Linked DNA regions of Homo sapiens: regions 1, 2 and 3 are each linked to region 4. The links are contacts of gene promoters, found by promoter capture Hi-C in blood cells and fetal thymus (Javierre and others, 2016). All regions are on one chromosome and are shown on one strand. The core of a region is centred on a gene start or on the middle of the fragment in contact, and the rest is flanking DNA. Distances in the headings are between cores, read along the strand shown. Region 1 overlaps TCFL5 (transcription factor like 5). Region 2 holds the start of TAF4 (TATA-box binding protein associated factor 4). Region 3 overlaps LOC105372717 (a long non-coding RNA gene). Region 4 holds the start of CABLES2 (Cdk5 and Abl enzyme substrate 2).

Region 1 (5,950 bases), core at 1,649-4,148, 450 kb before region 4:
ACTCCGCATGCAGTCACTCTCAGGCTGTGACTTACTATGGAGAAAGGATGCCAGGTGCGATCAGCAAAGGCGCGTGGGGAGAAGGCAGGAGCTGAGGTGCAAGCTTCTAAGAGCGCGCCCTGTGGAGTCAGGCAGGTTGCCCCTCATGCCCCCAGCCATGTGGTCTGAAAACGTGGGTGAGGTGTTGCCAACCAGGAAAGCTCGCTAGAGACCAGGGGCGTGTCACGTAGGCACTGCCCCCATGCATGCAACCACAGTCCAGTCTCCCAGAAGGAAAGCAGTTGTTCAGTGTCAGCCATATCGTTTGCACAGTGTAGGTTCTGGGGGCACTCTTAACTCCCTGAATCTAGGTTTGCAGACTCCACTAAGGGCCAGCCCTGACTGCAGGCCTTTCTGAGGAGAGTGGTCAGGCTGTTTTGGTAACTGCTGCTTACCAGCCAGCTTGAGTTCAGCAAGTTTTGCCTGGTTCTTTTTTTTTTTTTTTTTTTTTGAGACGGAGTCTTGCTCTGTCGCCCAGGCTGGAGTGCAGTGGCGCGATCTCTGCTCACTGGAAGCTCCGCCTCCCGGGTTCATGCCGTTCTCCTGCCTCAGCCTCCTGAGTAGCTGGGACTACAGGCGCCTGCCACCACACCTGGCTAATTTTTTTGTATTTTTTAGTAGAGACGGGGTTTCAGCATGTTAGCCAGGATGGTCTTGATCTCCTGACCTCGTGATCTGCCCGCCTCGGCCTCCCAAAGTGCTGGGATTACAGGTGTGAGCCACCGCTCCTGGCTATTGCCTGGTTCTTTTAAGATTGCTGGGAAGGAAGAGGTTAAAATTGTTATTTAAGTGGTTTTGTCTGTAGATTTTATTTGTGGTATCCTTCTTTGTAGAATTAAGAGTGGTTAATTTTTTTCTATTATAATTGGGTTTTCTTTTCTTTTTCTTTTTTTTTTTTTTTTTTGAGACGGAGTCTTGCTTTGTCACCCAGGCTGGAATAGTGCAGTGGCATGATCTCGGCTCACTGCAACCTCCGCCTCCCAGGTTCAAGCGAGTCTTCTGCCTCAGCCTCCCCAGTAGCTGGGATTACAGGTACCCGCCACTACGCCCAGCTAATTCTTGTACCTTTTAGTAGAGATGAGGTTTCACCATATTGGCCAGGTTGGTCTCGAACTCCTGACCTTGTGATCCGCCTGCCTCGGCCTCCTAAAGTGCTGGGATTACAGGCATGAGCCACCACACCCGGCCTATAATTGGGTTTTCATAGAATATTTCCCTAATCTATAATTAATTAACTACATAATGTATCGAGTACTGGTACTGTGTACCAGTTTCTGCTTTAAGTTCAGGAAATAAATAACAGTGAGTGAGACAAATACTCAGGTTTGAAGCTCCAAGGTTGAATGTTGAGCTAAGGCAATTTATTTATTTATTTATTTTTTTATTTGGTGAGATGGAGATTTACTCTTGTTGCCCAGGCTGGAGTGCAATGGCACGATCTCGGTTCAACGCAACCTTCGCCTCCCAGGTTCAAGCGATTCTCCTGCCTCAGCCTCCTGAGTAGCTGGGATTACAGGCATGCGTCACCACGCCCAGCTAATTTTGTATTTTTAGTACAGGAGGGGTTTCTCCATGTTGGTCAGGCTGGTCTCGAACTCCTCACCTCAGGTGATCCACGTGCCTCGGCCTCCCAAAGTACTGGGATTACAGGCTTGAGCCACTGCGCCTGGCATGGCAATTTCTTTTAAAGGGATCTATTCAAACTTGCTGGGGCAGGGTGCAGTGGCTCATGACTGTGGGCCGAGGTGGGAGGATTGCTTGAGCCCAGGAGTTTGAAACCAGCCTGGGCAACATAGCAAGTCCCCGTCTCTAAAGAAAAACCAACAATACTAGTAGTGGTGGTGTTGCACACCTGTCGCCCCAGCTACTTGGGAGGCTGAGGTGTGGGAGGATCACTTGAGCCTGGGAGGTCAGCGCTGTAGTCAGCTGTGATCATGCCACTGCACTCCAGCCTGGGCCACAAAGTGAGACCCATCCCCCAAAGAAAGAAAATTAAAAAGCTAGCTAATATCTTTTTATGATACTTTTATACACATGGACTAACTGAGGGCCTTCCTCACCCTACTGTGAATTATGAAGGGCATTTTGCTCCGACATTTATTTAATAGACATTTATTGAGTACCTGCTATGTGGAAAGCCTTACACCGTACGTTGACAGTTTGAAAGTTGGACTTCTAGCTCTACTGCGTAGACTTGTGGTTAGAGTTCAGTGAGCTGATGTGTAAAGAGTGTTTCGCTCAATGTCTAGAAGTCCAAAAGCACCTAGTAAATGCCAGCTGCTGTTTTACTGGCAAAGTCTCTAATTAAAGTTCTAAATAGACGGGTGTGAAGGTGAGTAACAAGGGCCATATTGAATAAGTTGCTCAGTATCTGCTTGTTTAGGACTTTGCATGTTACTGAATGTAATATGTAAAAGTTTAAAAAATAGTCTAATAACAAGACTCCAATTGTTTATCTCTACAAAGACCAAGTTTCAGAATATTAACAGAGTGTTGGGCCGTGATCCTTTCTGAATCAGGGCCCCTTGGAGAAAGCTGTGCACGAGTTCCTGGTAGGGTATTTAGCCCGTGAAGGGCAAGTAATATCAGTCTTGAATGACAGAGTTATCTGCCCAATTTGGACCCCTCAGTGGTCCAAATGGAAGAAGGTGTCAGACACAAAATGTTGCTTCCAGTTTCAGGGGCTTTGGAGCCATCCCTAATCTAGAGACTTGAACCTGGCCCGTGAGAAGTAAAGAGGGAAAGCTCCAGGGAGCTTGTGGGTCATGGGGCCGCCAAGGGCACCCGAGGATGCTCTGGCCTCTGGAAGGCAGTGGCTGCCTCTGTAGACAAGGCCGTGGCAAAGCCGTGGGGCTTCCTGTGGTGACAGGCGCTTCCGTGGCACTCAGTGGCCAGGATGCACGAGCTCTGGTTCCCTCAAGTACTACAGGAGACGCTTCCTTTTACATGTTTGTTTTGCTCCGGTCTCTCTCGGTGATGACTTTGGGTTTTGACTATAGGCGCAGAATCCGCATTTGCTGTGATGAGTTGAATCTCTTAGTGCCGTTCTGCAATGCCGAGACTGACAAGGCCACAACTCTGCAGTGGACCACAGCATTCCTGAAATACATCCAGGAAAGACATGGAGATTCTCTTAAAAAGGTTAGTGGTAGGCCAGGTAGATTTTCAGAATTTTACAAATTTTACTTAACAATGTCCCTCCTTTTTCCTAAGGATAACTCAAACTATCCTTTGTTTCCTGGAATCTAACATCAAATACTAAGTCCAGTATGAGCAAAGCTCTGCTCTTTAATGATATAACTTGTCATTTATTAAAGTAATAGTCACAGCCTACATGTGTTACACTCAGTGTGTAAATAACTGTGAAGAGGCAATTGTCAGATAGCAAATTGGGCACCTGCTGTGTACGGTATATTGCACTGGGGCTGACGGGTGTGTAGGACATGATATTTGCCCTCAGAAAAACTTGTGAAAGGGATAAAAGCAAGAATAGAAAAACAAAAACCGGCCAGCCACAGTGGTTCACGTCTGTAATCCCAGCACTTTGGGAGGCTGAAGTGGGAGGATCTCTTGAGCCCAGGAGTTTGAGACCAGCCTGGGCAACATGGCAAGACCCCATCTCTACTAAAAAATACAAAAATTAACCTGGTGTGGTGGCGTATGCCTGTAGTCCCAGCTGCTCGGGGCGGGGGCTGGGAGGGAGGATCAATTGAGCCAGGGAGGTCGAGGCTGCAGTGAGCTGAGATCATACCACTGCACTCCAGCCTGGGCAACAGGGCAAGACCCTGCCCCACCCCCACCCACCCCAAAAAAGAAAGAGAAACAAAAATGCAGATAAGTGTCAAATAGTCTGATCTGGACTTCAAATATGCCCAGCAGGTTAATAAGAAATATACTTCTGTGGACTGGGTGCATATACTTCTGTGGACTGGGTGCATATACTTCTGTGGACTGGGTGACTATACTTCTGTGGACTGGGTGACTATACTTTTGTGGACTGGGTGACTATACTGTGGACCGGGTGACTGTACTTCTGTGGACCGGGTGACTATGCTTCTGTGGACCGGTGACTGTGCTTCTGCGGACCGGGTGACTGTACTTCTGTGGACCGGGTGACTATGCTTCTGTGGACCGGGTGACTATACTTCTGCGGACTGGGTGAATGTACTTCAGCCGACCGGGTGACCATGCTTCTGCGGACTAGGTGACTATACTTCTGCGGACTGGGTGAATATACTTCTGCTGACTGGGTGAATGTACTTCTGCAGACTGGGTGACTATACTTCCATGGACTGGGTGAACATACTTTTGTGGACTGGTTGACTATACCTTTGTGGACTCGGTGAATATACTTCTGCGGACCGGGTGACCGTGCTTCTGTGGAATGGGTGAATATACTTCTGCGGACCAGGTGACTATGCTTCTGTCAACCAGGTGAATATACTTCTGTGGACCGGGTGACTGTACTTCTGTGGACCGGGTGAATATACTTCTGTGGACCGGGTGAATATACTTCTGTGGACTGGGTGACTAGGGAGGAGCCGGCGTGTTAGCGCCAGCATATGCAGTCCCTCAGGACAGCCAGCCTGCCGTGATCCTGTCTGTGTGGTCGTGGCAGTGGCCTGCAGCAAGCCATCGTGGTTGGCTGGAACTAGACGTGTGATTTGAATGCAGGAGTTCAGTCAGCCCCTCAGTGGCCTAAAAGGAAGAAGGTGTCAGTCACAGGGCTGGTTCTGGGCCCTGCCTTGGGGGGACCCCAGTTCCAGGGTTCTGGGCCCTGCCTTCAGGGGACCCGAGTTCCAGGGTCCTGGGCCCTGCCTTTGGGGGACCCGAGTTCCAGGTCCCGGCCTCAGCGTTGCAGTGGCCAGGGTCAGTGGCTCTTTGGCCCTCTAGGAGTGAGCAGACCTTAGTGAAATAGATCCACAGGGTCCTGACTTTGTACCTGGTCCAAGCTGTTGGGGAATTGCTGCTGTTGACCCAGGCAGGAGTCTGACTAGAGAACAAACTAAGGTTGCTGCAACAAACAAGGACCTCTTCCAAGAAGGGCTCCCAGGCCTGGCGCAGTGACTCATGCCTGTGATCCCAGCACTTGGGAGGCCGAGGCGGGTGGATCATTTGAGGCCAGGAGTTCGAGACCAGCTTGGCCAACATGATGAGACCCCCGTCTCTATTAAAAATACAAAAATTAGCCAGGCGTGGTGGCGCCTGTAGTCCCAGCTACTCAGGAGGTTGAAGCAGGAGAATTGTTGAACCCGGGAGGCGGAGGTTGCAATGAGCCAAGATAGCACCACTGCACTGCAGCCTGGGTGACAGAGCGAGACTCCATCTCAAAAGAAGGGCTCCTGTGTCTACGTCATGGTGGGGCTAGAGAGAGGTCCCCGCAGCTGGGCTGTGTTGAGTGAGGGCTCGTCTCTTCAGCGCCAGGCAATAGTTTGTCTTGTCTCTGTCCCTTTTCTGTGTCCACATGACATTTACATCTTGCGAGTTGCATAATTTAAGTTGTTTATTTACATTATACATTTAATTGCATTCTATAGCGATGCTATGTTGAATGTATTCTGATCGGATCGTTTATGGTTATTTACAATGCAGTTACTCTTGAAGATTATTGTTAGAGGTAGACTGTTGATTTGTTTTGATAAAATAAAGCTTTTGTGTTTTAAAAAATGCTTTAATGTTTTGGCTTTGTGTATCTATTAGTAAATCATTATTGATCTGATTTACTCAAGACGAAGGCATTTATAATTTTTGAAATTAAAAAATGTTAATTGTATGTATAGTCAAAGATTAAGTAGACCAAATGTTTATGGATATGATACTTTACATACATTATGTTTGCTGAATATTTCTTAAATGTAATTACATTGAATCTGATTACTTCTGGGTCACATTATTAGACCCACCAAGAAAC
Region 2 (6,516 bases), core at 2,612-5,111, 340 kb after region 4:
CCGAGCAGATCTGAGAATCCTCATTTTCTTGGGAAAGCAGGGCAGGGGTTGGAGGTGTCTTGGCCAGTGGACTTCTCTACTCCGGAACTCTCAAGTCACAGGCTACTGTCTCAGGCTCCAGCCTCCCCAGACTTGTGTCCCAGGGTGAAGGGGCCAGGCTAAGTGCCTCTTACCAAAGGTCTCCCTGTAAGTGAACAGTAAGTAGCCATCCCGTATACTAGCTTGAATAGTGTCCCCTCAAACCATATCCACCAGAACATGAGGATGTGACCTTATCTGGAAGCAGGGGCTTTGCAGACATAATTGGTAAAGGATCTCATGATGAAATCGTTTTGGATTTAGGGAGGTCTTGAATCCAATGACTGGTATCCTTATAAAAGGAGAGGACACAGACACACAGGGAGAAGGTCAGGAGAAGACAGAGACTGGAGTGATGTGACCACAAGCCCAGGAATGCTTGGAGCCACCGGAAGCTGGAGGAAGCAGGAAGGATCCTCCCCTAGAGCCTCTAGAGGGAGTGCAGCCCTGCCCACACCCTGGTTCTGGCTTCTACAGCTGTGAGAATCCACCTGTTGTTGAAGTTGCATACGTTTGTGATCATTCGTTAAGGCAGCCTTGAGAAACGCATCCCTCTGCATTTACAGAGCAATTAGGTGGCCACAAGTTTCTCCCTGGGATGTGGATTCATTTGTGACCAGAGACATCCCCCCTGAGTCTGCAAGACTGACGAACGCTGCCAGCGGGGCTGGTGGACACCCCAAAAACATTCAGCTGCTATCTAGCTGCACGCCTTTTTCTTTGCGGAGTGGGTGGGGGGAAGGGGTCTCATTCTGTCGCCCAGCCTGGAGCGCAGTGGCACAATCATAGCAGCACGATCACAGCTCACTTGTAGCCTTGAACTCCAGGGCCCAAGTGATCCTTCTGCTCCAATCTCCCAAATAGCTGAGACCACAGGTGCACAACACCACGCTTGGCTAATTAAAAAAACCTGTTTTTAGTAGAGACCGTGTCTTGCTTTGTTGCCCAGGCTGGTCTTGAACTCCTGGGCTCAGACCATCCTCCTGCCTCAGCCTCCTAAAACCCTGCAGTTATAGGCGTGAGCTGGCGCTGGCTTTTTTTTTAAAAAATTGTTTTATGATGAGGGCTGTCAGGCAGACAATAAAAGCACAGGTCACCTAACAAACACCACAGAACTTTCACACAGCCTGCAGCTTGGAAATCACTGATTCCCTTTATTCTTAGATTTGTTTTATTCTTAATGTGTCTTAAACTTAATTCAAAACTTGTTTTTATTATTTTTTATATTTAAGTGAGCGTGTCTGATGCTCTATTTTATTTAAAAATACAAGACCCTGCTTAGTAAACTTGGAAGGCCCACTGAGCTGCCAGCCGCCGAGGCCACCTCTTTGCCCACAGCCTGGCAGCAAACATTTTTCCGGGTTGAAACAGTGCTTATGATTAACATTTGTTACAATTCCCCCTTTTCTCTTTTTATGCTGGGTGAGATTTTTCTTTCAAACTACACAAGTCCTAACTGCTTGGGGCAACAACTAAAATCACAGAGATACTAAAATTTGGCGGGAGGCCCCCAGGGTGACTCCCCACCACATGAACATTAGGAGGGGAAGTCACGTGCTGTCCTCACCCGCCTCCCCTCCCCCCCCCCCCGGAAGGCAGTGCTCCTGCAAACCCCAGACATAGAAGAGCTGCCTGGCTGTCTGCGGCTCCCACTTTCCCCAGGGCCTTCTGGTGCCCAACACCCTCCTTGCAAGGGAAGCTGGAATAGGTGGGCACAGACCCTTAACTTCTCGCAGTTCCTGCAGCTGCCAGGCTGGACGGTTCCCCAGAAGATCCTGCGAACACGTTGGAATGAAAGACTCCTGGCGGGGCCTTGGAGAAGAGGAGTCACCACTGTGCGTAGATGGCAGGAGACTCATTACAGATCTCAGTGGAGTAGCAGCGGACTTGAAGAGTGGAGGCCTGAGCGTGGGAACCTTCAGTTACCCCAGCCTTTGGGACCCTGGGGGCCTTGGAACCTGGTCTGTTTCCTGCGAGTCCTGCGTTCTGCTTCTGCCCCGACTCCAATCTGAGGGGTCTGTGGGTATGGGCTGTGCAGTGAGCCTGGTGCGCCCCACCTTGCAAGTTGTGCGTGGGGCCAGTTAGCCTGCCTGTGCTTTGACCTGCTTTAAAAATGTTCTAATTAGTTGTCAACACTCAAAAATTAAAAATCCCGAGATTTAATCATCACTTTATATTTCTGTTCTTTCTGGAAAACTCAGACTGTCCCCCTACTGAGCTCAAGGTGCTCCGTAGGTGTACCCACAGGGGCCCTCCCCGCCATACTCAGCTTGCTTCATTCATTTCCTTTCCTGCCTTCTGGGAGCCAAAGTTCAGGTACAAAACTCCAGCTGTACGTTTGCAGTGATTTCCCCCAAACACTGTTCCCCTATAGGGGAGGCACCTCTCCTAGGCTCCGTCCTCAATGCTCATTGGCTGCTGCTGCTGTCGAGAAACAAGCCTGGGGTGAAGTCCCGTATTCCAGTTATCAGTAAGTCCATTCCTTTGCAAGGCTACAGTTCGAACAGGCACAAGGGTCCAGTTCGGGTCTGCTTTCGAGACTAGCAGTCTCCTTTGTTAAAGCAATTAAAAAAATCATTTTCTTTGTCAGCAACGTCATTCATCGTCCCGAGGTCTCTGCTTATTGCGGCGCTGTCTTCAGCTGCGAAGACTGACCCTGTGGCCTCTTGGCCCCAGTGAGGTCCGAGGCAAGGAAGCGTCTCTCTGAAACCTATTCTGGGCTCTTAGGAAGAAATGAGAGAAAGGAAAACCACTAGAAATGTCCAATAACACCATCTTTTGGTTGGAAAATAAAACACGCAGAAAGAGGGGACTGGAACTTTTACTGAAGTATTTCTAGAGAGAAGGTGCTTGGGAACACTTTAGGTAACTTACTCCCCTCCCCCAGCAGAAGGTAAAAAAAGCTACTTCCAGACGTGCCGGCTTCAGGCTCGGGAACTTCGTTTGGCGCCTGGCAAGCACCGTGCTCTTACCTACGGGCTTATACGACACTCCTGTCTCCAAGGCAGCTGGGTGCGGGGACAGTCAGCCCGGGGCGGCTGGGTTTATTGATTAAAAATGGAGGGAAGGGCCAGGGGTGGTCACGATTGGAGGGCGAGAAGAGCCGTGCGCGCAGGACCCCTCCCCACCGCCCGGGACCGGCTGAGCCAGAGGCGGACCCAGCTTCCCCGCGGCGGCTTGGAGGGGCCGGGCGCCGGTCCCCGTCCCCAGGGCGCGCTGCGACAGTCCCCTCCCCGTTCCCGCCCGCCTCCCAGGCCCATCCACTCCAGGGCCTGCGCGCCGCCCGGCGGCGCCCCGGCATCCCCGCGCGCTGTTCCCCGGGCCTCGGACGGGCCCTGCGCCGCCGCTGCCACCGCGCACGGCGCCCGCCCGGCGCTCCCGTCAGCGCCGCCGCAGCCATTTTGGAGCGAGCCGAGACAAAGAGCGAGGCCCCGTCGCCGCCCCGCGCCCGCCTCGGCCCGGCCCAGCGCACCGTTCCCGCATCCCGCGCCCCGCCCGGCGGCCCCCTCCCCGTCCGCCACCGCCCCGGCGCCCGCGCCCCTGAGCTCCAGCCCCCGCGCTTCCCGCCGCTGCTGCCGCACCCCGGCCGACCGCCCGCGCCCCGGCCTCTAGCGCTCGCAGCCATTGGCCGCGCCTTTTAAGCGCGCGCCGCAGCCAATCGCCGGGCGCCCGCGGTCTCCGCGCCTGCGCAGGGCCGCCACCCCCGCTCCCCCGCCCCCCGGCCGCGCGCCCCCGCCCCCCGCCGGCCGCGCGCCGCCCCCCGCCCGCCCAGCGCCCGCCCCAGTCGGAACCTCCTCCTCGCCCAGGCGCGCTCGGCCCGAGCGGCGGCGGCGGCGGCGGCCGAGGAAAAAAGATGGCGGCGGGCTCGGATCTGCTGGACGAGGTCTTCTTCAACAGCGAGGTGGACGAGAAAGTGGTGAGCGACCTGGTGGGCTCGCTGGAGTCGCAGCTGGCGGCCAGCGCGGCCCACCACCACCACCTCGCGCCGCGCACGCCCGAGGTGCGGGCCGCGGCCGCCGGCGCGCTCGGGAACCATGTTGTGAGCGGCAGCCCGGCCGGAGCCGCGGGCGCAGGGCCGGCCGCCCCCGCCGAGGGCGCGCCCGGAGCGGCGCCGGAGCCGCCCCCCGCAGGTAGAGCGCGGCCGGGGGGCGGGGGGCCGCAGCGCCCGGGCCCCCCCTCACCGCGCCGCCCCCTTGTCCCCGCAGGGCCCGCGCCGCCCGCCGCGAAGCTGAGGCCGCCGCCCGAGGGCAGCGCGGGGTCCTGCGCCCCGGTGCCCGCCGCCGCCGCCGTCGCCGCGGGGCCCGAGCCCGCCCCCGCCGGCCCCGCCAAGCCCGCCGGCCCCGCCGCGCTGGCCGCCCGCGCCGGCCCCGGCCCCGGGCCCGGCCCCGGCCCCGGCCCCGGCCCTGGCCCTGGCAAGCCCGCCGGCCCCGGCGCCGCGCAAACTTTGAATGGGAGCGCCGCGCTGCTGAACTCGCACCACGCCGCCGCACCTGCTGTCAGCCTGGTCAACAACGGGCCCGCCGCGCTGCTGCCGCTGCCCAAGCCCGCCGCCCCCGGCACTGTCATCCAGACGCCCCCCTTCGTGGGCGCCGCCGCGCCCCCCGCGCCCGCCGCGCCCTCGCCCCCCGCCGCCCCCGCGCCCGCCGCCCCCGCCGCCGCCCCGCCCCCGCCACCCCCCGCGCCCGCCACTCTGGCCCGGCCGCCCGGCCACCCCGCCGGACCCCCGACCGCCGCGCCCGCCGTGCCGCCCCCCGCCGCCGCCCAGAACGGGGGCAGCGCCGGGGCAGCCCCCGCCCCCGCCCCGGCCGCCGGGGGCCCCGCGGGGGTCAGCGGCCAACCCGGGCCCGGCGCGGCGGCTGCGGCGCCGGCGCCGGGGGTCAAGGCCGAGTCGCCCAAGAGGGTGGTGCAGGCGGCGCCCCCGGCGGCGCAGACCCTGGCGGCCAGCGGCCCGGCCAGCACGGCGGCCAGCATGGTCATCGGGCCAACTATGCAAGGGGCGCTGCCCAGCCCGGCCGCCGTCCCGCCGCCCGCCCCCGGGACCCCCACCGGGCTGCCCAAAGGCGCGGCCGGCGCAGTGACCCAGAGCCTGTCCCGGACGCCCACGGCCACCACCAGCGGGATTCGGGCCACCCTGACGCCCACCGTGCTGGCCCCCCGCTTGCCGCAGCCGCCTCAGAACCCGACCAACATCCAGAACTTCCAGCTGCCCCCAGGTGAGTGGCCGCACGGGGCGGGAGGGAAGGGCGGCTCCCAGCAGCGCCAGCTGCCAGTTCCAGGAAGTTCTCCGCTGGTGGAATGCTAAGGTCATCTGTCCCGTAGGCCCGTGGCTGGAGCAGGCCGAGGGGCAGTCTCTACCCAGGTGCGGGGCCAGCCCGGGTGGCTGTCTGCGAGTGAGCCAGAGGGAGTCGGCATAGCCTGCGTCCCTGTCGCTGTCCCTGACGTCCGCGCTGGCTGCCTGTGCCTGGGGCTGGTCTGTTTCGGAGTGGCTCAGCCAGGACTCTTAGTGGAGTGGTCCTTACCTGCTCCCGCCCTATGCGTCCCTGCCCGGGTTGGTAGGCTCAGCGCAGGGGCTCCCTGGGCCAGGCGATGGGGTCTGCAGAGCTGAGGGCAGTACCTGGGGCTGTGAGTGGCAGCAGCTGTCCCCTGCTCAGTTCTGCAGTTAGGCGTGTGGCCTGTGTCCCCACTTAGCCTTTCTGCCCCTTGGTGACCCTGGGCTCGAGCCTCTTCAGTCTCCAGGCGAGGACGGGGGCGCGACGCCCCCTCCTTGAGGCTCGGGAACTCTGGATGGAAGGCTTGGGCTCCTCTGCTGCCACCAGGCAGGGAGAGATGTCAGGCGCATCCTGCGAGAGTCCTCCCGGCGCGCAGCCTTGCTGAGAGCCACGCTGTGGAGTAGGGTTTCAGCACCGTGTGTGTCACTGTCTCTTCCAGAGCTGCGTTGGTGCCTAAAGGAAGGAGCGCCTAGCTACTCTGGTTGCTGCCCCCTCGGGAGGGCAGTGGGAGGGCGGTGGCAGCAGATGTTCTCGCTCCGTGCAGGGGTCTCGGGGCGATACTGGCTATGCTGCGGATGCCTGGGGCTCCGACGCCACTTCCGCCTGGCAGTTCTCACGCTCCTGTCTAGTCTGCTGTCTCTGCGACTCCTCAGGGCCCCTCAAGTTTGACAGGAAAGATTGCCTGGCCAGCATTGCTGCTTTTGTCTGGGGCTCCCCGTCCCTCCCCAGCCGCCGTGGTGGGTGCTGGGCAGGGGAGCTCCTCCCCGGCCTGTGGTGACGCGTGCCGTGCAGTTGTAGCAGCGCGGTGGCAGCAGTAGTAGGAACTGCAAGGAGAGCGTGGGTCCCTCCTGCGTCCCCTCTCTGAATGGAGCTATTGGTCACTTTGACAGGGTTGCAGAATCTTCAGAAGTGAAAGGATTTCTTGTCCAAGTATGTGAGGTTCGGGGCT
Region 3 (5,963 bases), core at 2,877-5,376, 460 kb before region 4:
TTGGGGCTTCCAGTCAGAGCGCAGGACTCCTGCTCTCGGACCTACAGCCTTTCTGCCAGCACAGAACGGGGACGCCTTTGGCAGGATGTCCTTTTTTTTCAGTTCTAGGGAAGCTGCGCCCATCAGGCAACGCAGGAACTATGTGGGTCAGATGACTGCGCCTCTGCTGCCGCTCACGGCTGTGCTGGGAATCACGTCCGGCAGGATAGCTCCCGCCAGCCCAGAGCGCCACCATCCCCACTGCATTGGGAGCCCAGCTGCATGGCAGCAGTTCCCGCCGCAGTTTTTCGCCTACAGAAAAGAATGATCATGGAGCTCTTCCCCGATGTGGGTGTGGGTGCGGTGTGGGTGAGGGTGCCAGTGAGGGTGCGGTGCGAGTGAGGGTGCGGGTGAGGGTGGGGGTGGGGGTGAGGGTGGGGGTGAGGGTGGGGGTGAGGGTGGGGGTGCGGGTGAGGGTGGGGGTGCGGGTGCGAGTGGGGGTGCGGGTGAGGGTGGGGGTGGGGGTGAGGGTGGGGGTGAGGGTGGGGGTGAGGGTGGGGGTGCGGGTGAGGGTGGGGGTGCGGGTGCGGGTGGGGGGGAGGGTGGGGGTGGGGGTGCGGGTGGGGGTGGGGGTGGGGGTGGGGGTGGGGGTGAGGGTGCAGGTGAGGGTGCGGGGCTCCCCGATGAATTCACTCCTCACAATCCTCGTGAAGGGGTGACCTCCAAGCCCTAAGGACATCAAGCTGGTCTTGCACGATAAATCCATCCCAGCGTTCTGCCGTCCTCTCCAGTGTGCCAGGAAAGTTCTGGATTTCACTGAATTTAGGGTCAGCTACCTGTGGGGCGAAAGTTTCGGTGACTGATGAAGAAAATGGGGGTGGGGGGTGGGTCACTCCCAGCCGTTCCCTCCAACGCATCAAATCCAGAATCTCGTATCTGAGTCCCTGTCCACTTACGCAAGCTTATATTCCTCCCACCCAGATCCCGCACTCTCAACATCGATTTCCACACATTTTCCGCAGGTTTTCGTAGGGAAACATATTTGTAGGCCACACCTCACACTTTCTCTTTTGGGGCCTGCTGGAACTCCAGTCTGGATCTAGGTCTAGAAGGAACACAGAGGTGGTGGTGAGTCCCGGGCAGGACGGCGGCACCTTACAGGGCAGCTCCCTAGGGAAGGCACTTGAGGGTCTTTGGGCAAAGGGGTCTCAGCTCCCCAGGCAGTGGCAGAAGAGCCACATGTGCCTTCAAAGACGACCTGCGGAGTTCACCGGCAGATCCCAATGGACTTGCAGGGCTCGTGGTCCTCAGCTTCACTGGGATCTTCCCACATGCCCCTGTAGGGACCAGCCCCACAGGGTCGGTGGGCTTCTCCCTGTGTGTGGTGACGAGAGAGTGTAAAAATAAAGACACAAGACAAAGAGATAAAAGAAAAGACAGCTGGGCCCGGGGAACCACTACCACCAATGCGCAGAGACCGGTAGTGGCTCCGAATGTCTGGCTGCATTGTTATTTATTGGATACAAAGCAAAAGGGGCAGGGTAAGGAGTGTGAGTCATCTCCAGTGATAGGTAAGGTCACGTGGGTCACGTGTCCACTGGACAGGGGGCCCTCCCCTGCCTGGCAGCCAAGGCAGAGACAGAGAGGGAGAGACAGAGACCGCTTACGCCATTATTTCTGCTTATCAGAGACTTTCAGTACTTTCACTAATTTGCTGCTGCTATCTAGAAGGCAGAGCCAGGTGCACAGGATGGAACATGAAGGCGGACTAGGAGCGTGACCACTGAAGCACAGCATCACAGGGAGACGGTTAGGCCTCCGGATAACTGCGGGCGGGCCTGACTGATGTCAGGCCCTCCGCAAGAGGTGGAGGAGTAGAGTCTTCTCTAAACTCCCCCGGGGAAAGGGAGACTCCCTTTCCCCGTCTGCTAAGTAGCGGGTGTTTTTCCGTGACACTGAGGCTACCGCTAGACCACGGTCCGTCTGGCAACGGGCGTCTTCCCAGACGCTGGCGTCACCGCTAGACCAAGGAGCCCTCTGGTGGCCCTGTCCGGGCGTAACAGAAGGTTCACACTCTTGTCTTCTGGTCACTTCTCACCATGTCCCCTCAGCTCCTGTCTCTGTATGGCCTGGTTTTTCCTAGATTATGATTATAGAGCAAGCATTATAAAGAGTAATTGCTACAAACTAATGATGAAAGATATTCATATATAATCATGTCTATGATCTGTATCTGGTATAACTCTTGTTGTTTTATATATTTTATTACACTGGAACAGCTCGTGCCCTCGGTCTCTTGCCTCGGCACCTGGGTGGCTTGCCGCCCACATGCCCCCATTGCAACGTCAGGTTCCCATTCTTTCCCAACTTCCCTAACTTTAACAAAAGAGGCACTGCAAAGTCGAAACTGCAGTTTAGGCTGTAATTAAATCATCCAGGAGACTAGGCTTCAGGTTTGCTTTGCAGAAATCTCAGCCCCATGGCTACAGGAGATAAGGACTTACTTTAAGGCAGTCATAGAGGCTTTCAGGTTCCTTTTTCAGACTCCAAGCCAGGCATTTAAAGCATCGAGAGCTGGAGCTGCTGTGTCCATCACCAGCAGGTCCTCGTCCTGCTAATTCCTGTCTACAGCTTCACCAGCACATGGGCCAGTGAGATGTCCCTGCCTCCCTCTTTCTTCCTCAGTTCTTTCTCTTCCCCCTTGTTCAATTTGCCTGGAAGCATGAAAGAAGAAAGCACAGGGCCCCCCAAGCCCCTCTGCTTCTGCCCATCACAAGTGCCACGAACCCATGGTCCCCGCCATCTCCTCTCTCTTCTCCCGCCTCTTCAGCAAGAAGCAGATGCACATTTGGACGGTTCGATTGGATGCTGCCTATACATTGTGTATAAACTGAAGTTAGGGGAGGTACTCACCACAGTTCCTGCCATTGGTTTTAACATGGAAAGAGTAGAATATAAGAACACTTGTTTTGGGCCAGGCACGGTAGCTCATGCCTATAATCCCAGCACTTTGGGAGGCCGAGGCAGGCAGATCACAAGGTCAGGAGTTCAAGACCAGCCTGGCCAATATGGTGGAACCCTGTCTCTACTAAATATACAAAAATTAGCCAGGCATAGTGGTGGGCTCCTGTAATCCCAGCTACTCGGGAGGCCGAGGCAGGAGAATTGCTTGAACCCGGGAGGTGGAAGTTGTAGTGAGCTGAGATTGCGCCATTGCACTCCAGCCTGGATGACAGAGCGAGACTCTGACTCAAAAAGAGAACACTTGTTTCATGGTGTGGGATGTTCATGGTCAAGATGTAATTAGGCTTCTCTGGAAGCATTACTTCCAGAATACCCAGGGTTTTCTTTTGCTGGTAGATAGCAACGATCATGAAAGAATTCGGGAAGTGGCGGACGCGCTGCAGAAAAGGCTTCTGGCCGGTGAGTGTGGAGACGCAGCGCCACTGCTCTCTGCAAACAAACAGGGTTTGCCCAGCGCTCGGGCCATCAGTGTGACGACAGATGAGCCAGCCAGCTCTTCAGTCTCTTCCTAACAGGACATGGTATGTTCAAGCCACTTGTGCAACACGGAGCTGGTGTAGATGAGGGACTTGACTGGCTGTCAAATGAGTTTTCAAAACGTTAAATGAAACTAGACATCTAACCAAAGACATGTTTGATAAAATTGGTCTAGACTTGCTACAGCAAAATTTGTTTGTATCTTGGTTAAGAAACAGCATCTGGGACTGGCTTGGGCAGAATAATAAACTTATTTTGTTGCCAATTATTGTTTGCCAAATATAATGTTGTTATTTAGCAATGTGCTTGGTTTTAAAGAAATTCTTCTTGGGAAAAAGGTGTCCTCATTTACTTCCCATGAGCCTAAAGCCTGGACATAGTTATTGTAAAACCTTTAAATAAATCCACCTTGGAAGTTAAGATACATAAAAATAAATAAGGTGGGGCGTGGTGGCTCACGCCTGTGGGAGCACTGTCTGTGAGGAGGTGAATCCCTTGAGCTTGTTGGAGACAAGGCTGGGCAACATGGTGAACCTTGCCTCTATTTAAAAAAAAAAAAAAAAAAAGGCCGTGCACGGTGGCTCATGCCTGTAATCCCAGCATTTTGGGAGGCCGAGGCGGGGGGATCATGAGGTCAGGAGATCGAGACCATCCTGGCTCACATGGTGAAACCCCAAACCCCGTCTCTACTAAAAAAATTAGCTGGGCATGGTGGCACGTGCCTGTAATCCCAGCTACTCGGGAGGCTGAGGCAGAAGAATCGCTTGAACCCAGGAGGCGGACGTTGCAGTGAACCAACATCGTGCCACCGTACTCCAGCCTGGGTGACAGAGACTCCATCTAAAAAGAAAAAAAAAGAAAAAAAAAATTCGGCTGGGCACGGTGATTCACACCTGTAATCCCAGCACTTTGGGAGGCCGAGGCAGGCAGATCACTTGAGGTCAGGAGCTCGAGACCAGCCTGGCCAACATGGTGAAACCCTGTCTCTACCAGAAAAATACAAAAAATAGCCAGGCATCGTGGCATGTGCCTGTAATCCCAGCTGCTTGGGTGGCTGAGGTAGGAGAATCGTTTGAACCCAGGAGGCAGAGGTGGCAGTGAGCCGAGATCGCACCACTGCACTCCAGCCTGGGTGACAGAGCAAGACTCCGCCTCAAAAACAAACAAATAAATAAATAAATAAATAAATAAAATAAAGCACTGACTCACCATTTTCTTTTCCCAGATTATCCAGAGCACTTGGGCAAAAGCCTCCACCCCATTTTTACTAGAATGTTCAATGGCAGCCTTGGTTCCAGAGGCACTTGGTTGAATTTTGCCCATTGATGCTCATTTGCATGAATTATCAGCGCCTCTTTCCCGTGAGAAACGGTTACCAATGCTTTTAAATCAAAGGCAATCAAAGATCCAGCTCCAGAAAACCCAGAACCAGCTTTGATCACTCCACATCACGGAACAGAAAAATCAATTGGCCCAGGAGTCCAAGAAGCTACAGGAGGATGAGAGGAAGGGGAGCAGTTGCCGGCAGGCCTGGTGACCCTGCCCTGCTCAACCTTCCAAGAATTTGAGAGAGAAAGAAAGAAAAAAAACCCTGCTTGCTGCGGTCTGAGTTTGTATCCCTCCAAGATTCATACTGAAACCTAATCTGCACTGTGGTGGCATTAAGAAGAGGGGTCTTTAAAACAATGGCCGGGTGCGGTGGCTCACGCCTGTAATCCCAGCACTTTGGGAGGCCGAGGCGGGCGGGTCACCTGAGGTCAGGAGTTCAAGACCAGCCTGACCAACATGGTGAAACCCTGTCTCTACTGAAAATACAAAACTATTAGCCAGGCGTGGTGGCACGTGCCTGTAATCCCAGCTACTCAGGAGGCTGAGGCAGAAGAATTGCTTGAACCCGGGAGGCAGACGTTGCAGTGAACCGAGATCATGCCATTGCACCCCAGCCTGGGCAATAAATCGAGACTCCATCTCAAAAAAATAAATAAATAAAAAATAAGAAGAGGGGCCTTTAGGAGGTGACTAGGTCATGACGGGAGAGCCATCATGAATGGGATTAGTGCCCTTTTACAAGAGGCCTGGGGGAGCTGATTTTCTCTCTCTGCCACATGAGGATGTGGCAGGAAGGCAGCATCTGAGCGGAACAGGCCCTCATCAGCCATCACATATGCTGGTGCCTTGATCTGGGACTTTCCAGCTTCCAGAACTAGGAGCAATACATTTTTGTTGTTTATAAGTGACCCAGTCTAAGGTGTCTTGTTATGACAGCACAAATGGACTAAGACACTGCTGGGTTTTTATTGGAACTGCATACATCAGTTTTGGGAATAACAGACATCTTAACACTATCGAACCTTCCAATCCATGAACATAGTATATCTCTATATTTGTCCATCTTTTTAATTTATTTCAACAGTATTTTGTAGTTTTCAGTGTACAGTCTTTTACATCTTTCATCAAATTTATTTCTAAGTTTTGTTTTTTTT
Region 4 (6,233 bases), core at 331-2,830:
GACAGCTGCCTCCTGCCTCCTGCGTCCTGCCCTCCACCCTCACTCGCCCCTTTCTGTTCTCATCTGACACCAGATTCTCTGCAAGCTGCTGGTGTATGGCCCACCCTCCCCTGTCAGGCCCCTCCTCCTGGTGATAGCCAGCAGGGATGGAGGGCCCACTGTGTGCCTGCCCCAGCCTCAGCACCCTACAGCGCTGGACACACTCACTCCCCGCTCACGGGAGCCCCCAGGCACACAAGTCAGCACCCCATTCTGTGGATCCAGAATCCGCAGCCACCCCTCTGCTATGCCACCCAGCCCCGCGTTCTCCTAGACAGGACAGCTGCCCACCTTCCCCTAGGCCTGGCAGAGGCCTTGGAGGCCAACTTGGAAGGGCGGAGGGAAAGGAAATGGAGGTGCTGCATGCTGCGTGAGCCCCAATGGTGGCCCGTGAAGGCCCACAGGAGGGAGCAGGCAGGCGGGAGGTGGGTAGGGGCCTGAAGGGCAGGGGCCCATGCTAGGGGTGGTGATGAAGACCCTGTCTTGCCCACTCGCCCACTGCCTTGTTGGCCATCATGCTGCCTCCCCACACACCAGGTGCTCCTAGGGCCAGCGCTGTGCCTGTCGGTCCCACCGGGTCCCCAGCACCCAGCACAGGAGAGGCTGGGCGCATGCGGGCAGGTGCGAGGTACTGCAGCGCATTCGCGGACTGACCACTGCATGTGCCTGGCCTCCGGCCACAGCCCGACCCCCTCACTGAGCCAGTTTCATCCTGACAGTACCCTGAGGCTGAAATCATTGTCCCCTCTTTAAAGATACGTAAACCCATGAAAGAAAGCTGGACAGAGCAGGCAGGTGACACAGAGGTGGGTGCAAGGTCCTGAGTCCCTCCACAAAGATACAGCGGGTTCCCCTCCAGACTGCAGACAGGCTCCCGGGCTCCAGAGGCAGGCCCTGACCATCCCGGTGCCACGGGCTCACAGGTTCTGAAGTCAGGGGCACCCAGGCACAGAGAGGAAACAGGCCTGGGCACAAGGCAGGCTCAAGGTCACTTTGCTACTGCAGGAAGTGCAGGACTCTGCCTGGGGCTTTGATCCCAAGCAGGTGCCTTCTCCACTCAGACCCTCGTTCCCTTCTGTCAATGAAGGAGGCCAGATGGCACGCGGGCCCTTCCGGGAAGCGGTGGGGCTCCTCCAGGGGCCGCCCTGCGCCCGCTGAAGCGCCGCCCAGACACACCTCCGGACAGGGAAGTGTGCTGGGGCCTCACCCACGCCGCCCTGGGTCCGGAGCCTTAAAATGTGCGCTCGATGGAGGCCATCCGCGAAGGCCGCCATACAGCAAAGGGAACAGAAAGCGAGAGCCCCGCGGCCGCAGGTCCCAAGACGGGGACTCGAACCGGCGGGGAGGCGCGCAGCTCCCGACTCCCTGCTGCTGCGTCCGACCGCCTCTAGGACCCAGGGGAGCGCCCTGAGCGCGGCACCTCGCTGGCCAATGGGAGAGCGCGACGGCGATACATTTGCATGTGGGCGCGCCGCGGCCAATGGGCGGCGGGCGCGCGGGCGCGCGGGCAGGGGGTGGGGCGCTTCGCGGCGGCGGGCGCAGTCTGAGGATGGCCGCGGCCGCGGCCGGTGGAGCCCCGGGCCCGGCCCCCGGCCCCGCCGGGCCCCCGCCACCCGCCGCGCCGACCTCGGCCGCTCGGGCCCCGCCGCAGGCGCTGCGGAGGCGCGGGGACTCGCGGCGCCGCCAGGCCGCGCTTTTCTTCCTCAACAACATCTCCCTGGACGGGCGGCCCCCGAGCCTGGGCCCGGGCGGAGAGAAGCCCCCGCCGCCGCCCGCCGAGGCCCGCGAACCGCCAGCGCCGCCGCCGCCGGAGCCCCCCACCGGGCTGCCCGCCAGGACCCCCGCGCCCCAGGGCCTGCTCAGCCCCACGCAGGTGCCCACCGGCCTCGGCCTGGATGGGCAGCGCCAGAGGTGAGTGGGGGCCCGGCCAGGTCAGCCCAGGACGCGGGGTACAGGGACGGGGACGGGGGCCGGATCAGCCCAGGACTAGGGGTCAGGATTACTTGGGGCCTCATCAGCCCAGGACAAGGGGGTCAGGTGACCTGGGGCCTTGTCAGCCCTGGACAGAGGCCAGGACAAAGGGGTTGGGTTCACCTGGGGCCTTGTCAGCCCTGGACAGAGGTTCAGGTGACCTGAGCCCCTGTCAACCCAGGACACAGGGGTCAGGGTCAGTCTGGGCCCTCATCAGCCCAGGACACAGGGGTTGGGTTCACCTGGGACCTTGTCAGTCCTGGATACAGAACTGGGGGTTCCTGGGCTGGCTGAGGGTTTCCTCAGGCCCTGTCACCCCCCACACATAGGGTTCATTGTCCCCTGAATTCTCCCAGCCCCTGAATACGGGGTCTGGATCTCCACGTTGTCAGTGCTCTGAAATGGGTTTTAGGGTTCAGCCCTTATTACCCCTGAGACCCCCAGCCCTGTGGGTTCTGGACATGCCCCCACCCCCATCCACTGGTACCAGTGCCCGGGACACAGGGACACATGGACAGCCCTGTGCATCTCTTCGCATTCTTTGAACCGGGCCACACCGTCCATGCCCACCTCCTCAGACCCAGCATGTGGGCCGGGGTCCTCCTGGCACTGTCACTGACACCTGTTCCCAGAGGCCCCTGCACAGCCACATCTCCCATCCCACAGCCACTGGTCTCTGGCACCCCTCCTCTCCCTGTCACTTCCCTGCTGAGCCCCGCCCTTCCCCACATCACTCTCAGCTCGGTATCTTTGGGTCTGTCACACCCTGGGTCTCCACTGCTCCCCCTGCCTTGATTCCATTTCTGGGAACCACCTCAGCCCATCCCAGGGCAACCCCAACCATGAGCCCTGCCTGTCCAGCGTGTGCCCCCTGCCCAGATGGCCCCTGGCTGCCCGACACCCTGTGTCCTTCTCCCAGAGACCACAGGACCTGGGTGACCCTGCCTCCCACAGCCCTCACCTCCAGGAGTGACTGTGGGCTCTGGGCCCAGGACTGGCTGCTTGTTGCGGTTCCTTCTCAAAGGGAGCCACTGTCCACAGGTCCAAGTGCCTGCTGGGCGGCTGTTCCCAGAGGCAGCCCCTGCAGGTGTGCAGCAAAGGGGCCGACACAGAGCTCTTGGGTCAAGGCTGGCACGTGCTCCTTGCTTACCTGGAGGTCATCAGAGTTGCCCCACGCCCCTGGCCTTCGGGCAGGTGGAGGCATTGGGTTCCTCTAAGGTCTTTGGTTGGGGAAGTTTGGGCCCAGAACACAGCACTCTGTCCTCAAAGACTATGACGTCACATGCAGGTTGCGTCACACGCAGGTCGCGGTGCACTCCATCCTTGGAAGTGTTCCTGGCCGTAGCCAGGCTGAGGGTGCCTGCAGACCCAGGCCTGTCCACAAGATGTCCCCCCACGGACATGCCTGGCCGCTGCTCCAGGGAGGGTCAGAGGGATGATTGGGGCAGAGGGATGGATTTGCCCAAATGTGGCAGCCAGGCCCCATGCATTTGGCATGGCCAGCTCCTTCAGGAAGGCGGGAGAGATGGAACAAGGTGGTGACTCTCCAGGGCAGAGCGGCAAGGCCCTAAGGTGTGGACTCCAGGGGAAGCGGGCTCACCCCAACGGGCCGAGCTCCGCAGGTGTGGTGGGCTTTTCCCTAACCCCGGGCCCTGTTGTTTGACATGGAAACAGCTTTCTCCCTCAGTCCTGCATGTTGAGTGTCCAGAACCGGATGGTGACACCAGGCAGACTGGGTGCTGTCATAGGCCCTCCTTCCACAGAGTTCATGCACCCCTGTGTGCACCAGGCCTGGCGTGGAGTGGAGCCCACTTGAGTGGAGGGAGGCAGAGCGTGGCGACGCGCAGGGAAGTGCCTGTGACTGAGAAGGCACCCCCTGCAGGCCCAGAGCCTCCATGGTGACAGTTCTGAGCGCAGCATGCTGCCCACGTGCAGCACATCCCTGCCCTGTGGGATTGTTAGAAGGTGCGCTGTGGCCGGCATCCCTGGGACAGGATGGGACGTGGCATGGGCTGGGTGCCTGCAGTCCTCCTGCCGTACCCACCATGGGCCCAAGCGCCACCACCCCTTGCCTTGCCCAGGGCTGTCTCCTCCCTTCCCTCCTCCTTGGCCCCCATGTCCCTGTTCAGGTCTTTCCTGAACCCCACTCTGTTCCTGGAGGGGGAGGCGTCCCTCCTGGGGCTCTGCTGCCAAGTTCGTGGTGCTGACCTTGTTTCTGAGGGCCATGGCCCCTCCCTGATAGGTAGACCCCAGCGTGAGGACGTCCATTTCACCCTGCGTTCCCTGGGCCTGGCTGCTGATCGAGGGAAGGGTGGCTGCCCCGGCAAAAGGGGCTGCTAGCTCCTGGCTTGAGAGTTCTAGGATGAGTTGGTTTCAGGAAATGGAGAGAATTCTGAAAGTCCTGAAGGCAGCCCTGATGTTGGTCTTGTGAGTGTGGTGGTTTGACCTGGGCTCTGGGAACAGACTTGGCTTGGAATCCCAGCTGCACTGTTCAGTACCTCTGTGACCTTGAGCAGGTGACATGGCCTCTCTGAGCCTCAATCTCCTCTGAGAAGCGGGTTCACACTAAGCACTAAGCATGGCCTCCCTGAGGTCAGAGGTCAGATGCGTGCCCAGGGCTTGGTGAGGTATGTGGCAGGAGTCAGTGTGAGATGAGCAGAGCCTCTTTTTTTTTGAGACAGGGTCTCTCTCTGTCTCCCAGGCAGGAGTGCAGTGGCGCAATCACAGCTCACTGCAGCCTCTACCTCCTGGGCTCGAGTTATCCTGTCTCAGCCTCCCAGTAGCTGGAACTATAGGCACACACCACACCCTGCTAAGTTTTTATTTTAGCAGACATGGGGTCTCACTATATTGTCTAGGCTGGTCTTAAACTCTGGCTCACGTGATCCGTCTTGGCCTCCCAAGTGCTGGGATTTCAGGTGGCAGCCGCCACACCCAGTCAAATGGAGCCTCCTGTTACAACAAGGCTGCTCAGGGAACAGTAACTTCTCGGTCCTAATACTTATTCTTTCCCAGGGAGGCTCAGCCTGGTGTGGCACTTTGTGTTGAACCAGTGAGTGAATCATTAGAATCCTTGTTTTCCTCATAGAACTTCCAACCAGGTTTATTTTCACTTTTAACTTTGCCATTGCCTAATGCCCAAAAGCAAGTGGGAACTCTGGGCCTCCCCAGCTGGGTTTGAGCAGGTGCTGGGGTGTTCCGCCTGCAGCCTCCTCCCCGCCGCCCCCTCCTCCCAAACCCGGTGGCTTACGGCACCAGCGTGGCCTCTCCCAGCTCTGGAGGCCAGAAGCCCAACCTCAAGGTGTGGACAGACCCACGCTCCCTCTGCAGGCTCCAGGGAGGATCCTTCCTGCCTTTTCCCACTTCTGGTGGCTCCACGCACTCCCGGGCTTGTGGCTCCAGTTTCTGCCTCCGCCTCCGTGCCGCACTGTTCCTGCGTGTCTGTGTCTCCATGTGGTGATTTCCTCACAGGGACACCAGTCATTGGATTAGGACTTAACCTGTGACATCTTAACTTGATGACATCTGCTAAGACCCTCAGGGGGCGACACAGTTCAACTAAGACCCTCTTTCCATCCGAGGTCCCATTCACAGGTACTGGGGTTAGGACTTCACCCTGTCTTCTGGGGGCGATACCCTTCAACCTACAACAGCCCTTGGTGAGTGTCCACAACGCTAATGAGGTGAGAGTGGCATCCCCTCAAGCGAACAACTTTCCCCAAATTGCAGCCAGATGTGGCCCAGCAAAGAGCCAGGGTGCAGCCATCAGCAAGCAGAGCCCCCCAGTTCTGGAGGGTGTGTGCCGAGATGCTTCTGGGGAAAGGCCTGGGCCTGGGGCTGGGCTGCAGCTGTGGGACAAGCTGCTGTCTGGGCCAGGAGCCACTCAGCGTCGCCAAGCTGCTGTCCAAGTTAAACCAATTCAGCATCTGGCACCTTGTTTACAAGCGTGATTTGGGGGTTTCTTGCTCTCCAGCTGGCAAGCAGCTGGCAGTGGTCAGCTGAGGCCAGAGCCTGGGGGCACATCTCCCATGGCAGCCCAGAGGGCAATGGACACCCCCCACTCCGCCCAGCCCTGTGACCCCATATGGATGCTTTCGCTGGGTGAGGCTGCAGCCCCCGCAGGGAGTGCTGGACTTGGGCGCTTTTGCTTTACCTGGGACTTGATGAGATGGGGCACCCGAGACCAGCCACGCATTCCACAGCTGTGCCCCAGGGTCCAGGGG

Evidence for each region. The method cuts DNA at HindIII sites, captures the fragments that hold promoters and counts their contacts. A CHiCAGO score of 5 or more calls a contact.
Region 1: a contact is called between a fragment that was not itself captured here and the fragment with the promoter of CABLES2 in region 4, in 1 of 17 cell types (neutrophils). The highest score is 6.1, in neutrophils.
Region 2: the fragment with the promoter of TAF4 here is called in contact with the fragment with the promoter of CABLES2 in region 4 in 1 of 17 cell types (neutrophils); the score reaches 5.2 in neutrophils.
Region 3: a fragment that was not itself captured here is called in contact with the fragment with the promoter of CABLES2 in region 4 in 1 of 17 cell types (neutrophils); the score reaches 6.3 in neutrophils.

What each region holds. Positions count from the first base shown.
Region 1 is chr20:62,851,246-62,857,195 of GRCh38, reverse strand. TCFL5 (transcription factor like 5) reads left to right here. Exons shown (of 6, transcript NM_006602.4): 5 at 3,039-3,180. Among named protein-coding and RNA genes, the nearest start is that of TCFL5, 7.6 kb to the left of the region's middle. The HindIII fragment of the contact is 5,585 bases long and covers 106-5,690 here.
Region 2 is chr20:62,063,226-62,069,741 of GRCh38, reverse strand. It overlaps TAF4 (TATA-box binding protein associated factor 4), which reads left to right and starts at 3,861. Exons shown (of 15, transcript NM_003185.4): 1 at 3,861-5,291. The coding sequence starts at 3,932. MIR3195 (microRNA 3195) reads right to left here and starts at 4,940; the gene lies at 4,857-4,940. LOC105372705 (a long non-coding RNA gene) reads right to left here and starts at 3,288. Exons shown (of 2, transcript XR_936960.3): 1 at 3,051-3,288; 2 at 1,207-2,800. RefSeq lists enhancers at 2,572-3,085, 4,114-4,628, 4,629-5,142, 5,143-5,657, 5,658-6,171 and silencers at 3,081-3,460, 3,721-3,830, 4,091-4,180. The HindIII fragment of the contact is 9,555 bases long and covers 1-6,516 here.
Region 3 is chr20:62,869,894-62,875,856 of GRCh38, reverse strand. LOC105372717 (a long non-coding RNA gene) reads right to left here. Exons shown (of 4, transcript XR_936989.4): 2 at 936-1,084; 3 at 680-815. It also overlaps the pseudogene ARF4P2. Among named protein-coding and RNA genes, the nearest start is that of SNORA117, 10 kb to the left of the region's middle. RefSeq lists an enhancer at 1-523. The HindIII fragment of the contact is 6,367 bases long and covers 943-5,963 here.
Region 4 is chr20:62,402,632-62,408,864 of GRCh38, reverse strand. CABLES2 (Cdk5 and Abl enzyme substrate 2) reads left to right here and starts at 1,580. Exons shown (of 10, transcript NM_031215.3): 1 at 1,580-1,950. The coding sequence starts at 1,589. LOC105372709 (a long non-coding RNA gene) reads left to right here and starts at 1,971. Exons shown (of 2, transcript XR_936967.3): 1 at 1,971-3,975; 2 at 5,341-6,233. RefSeq lists a silencer at 1,414-1,663. The HindIII fragment of the contact is 20,791 bases long and covers 1-6,233 here.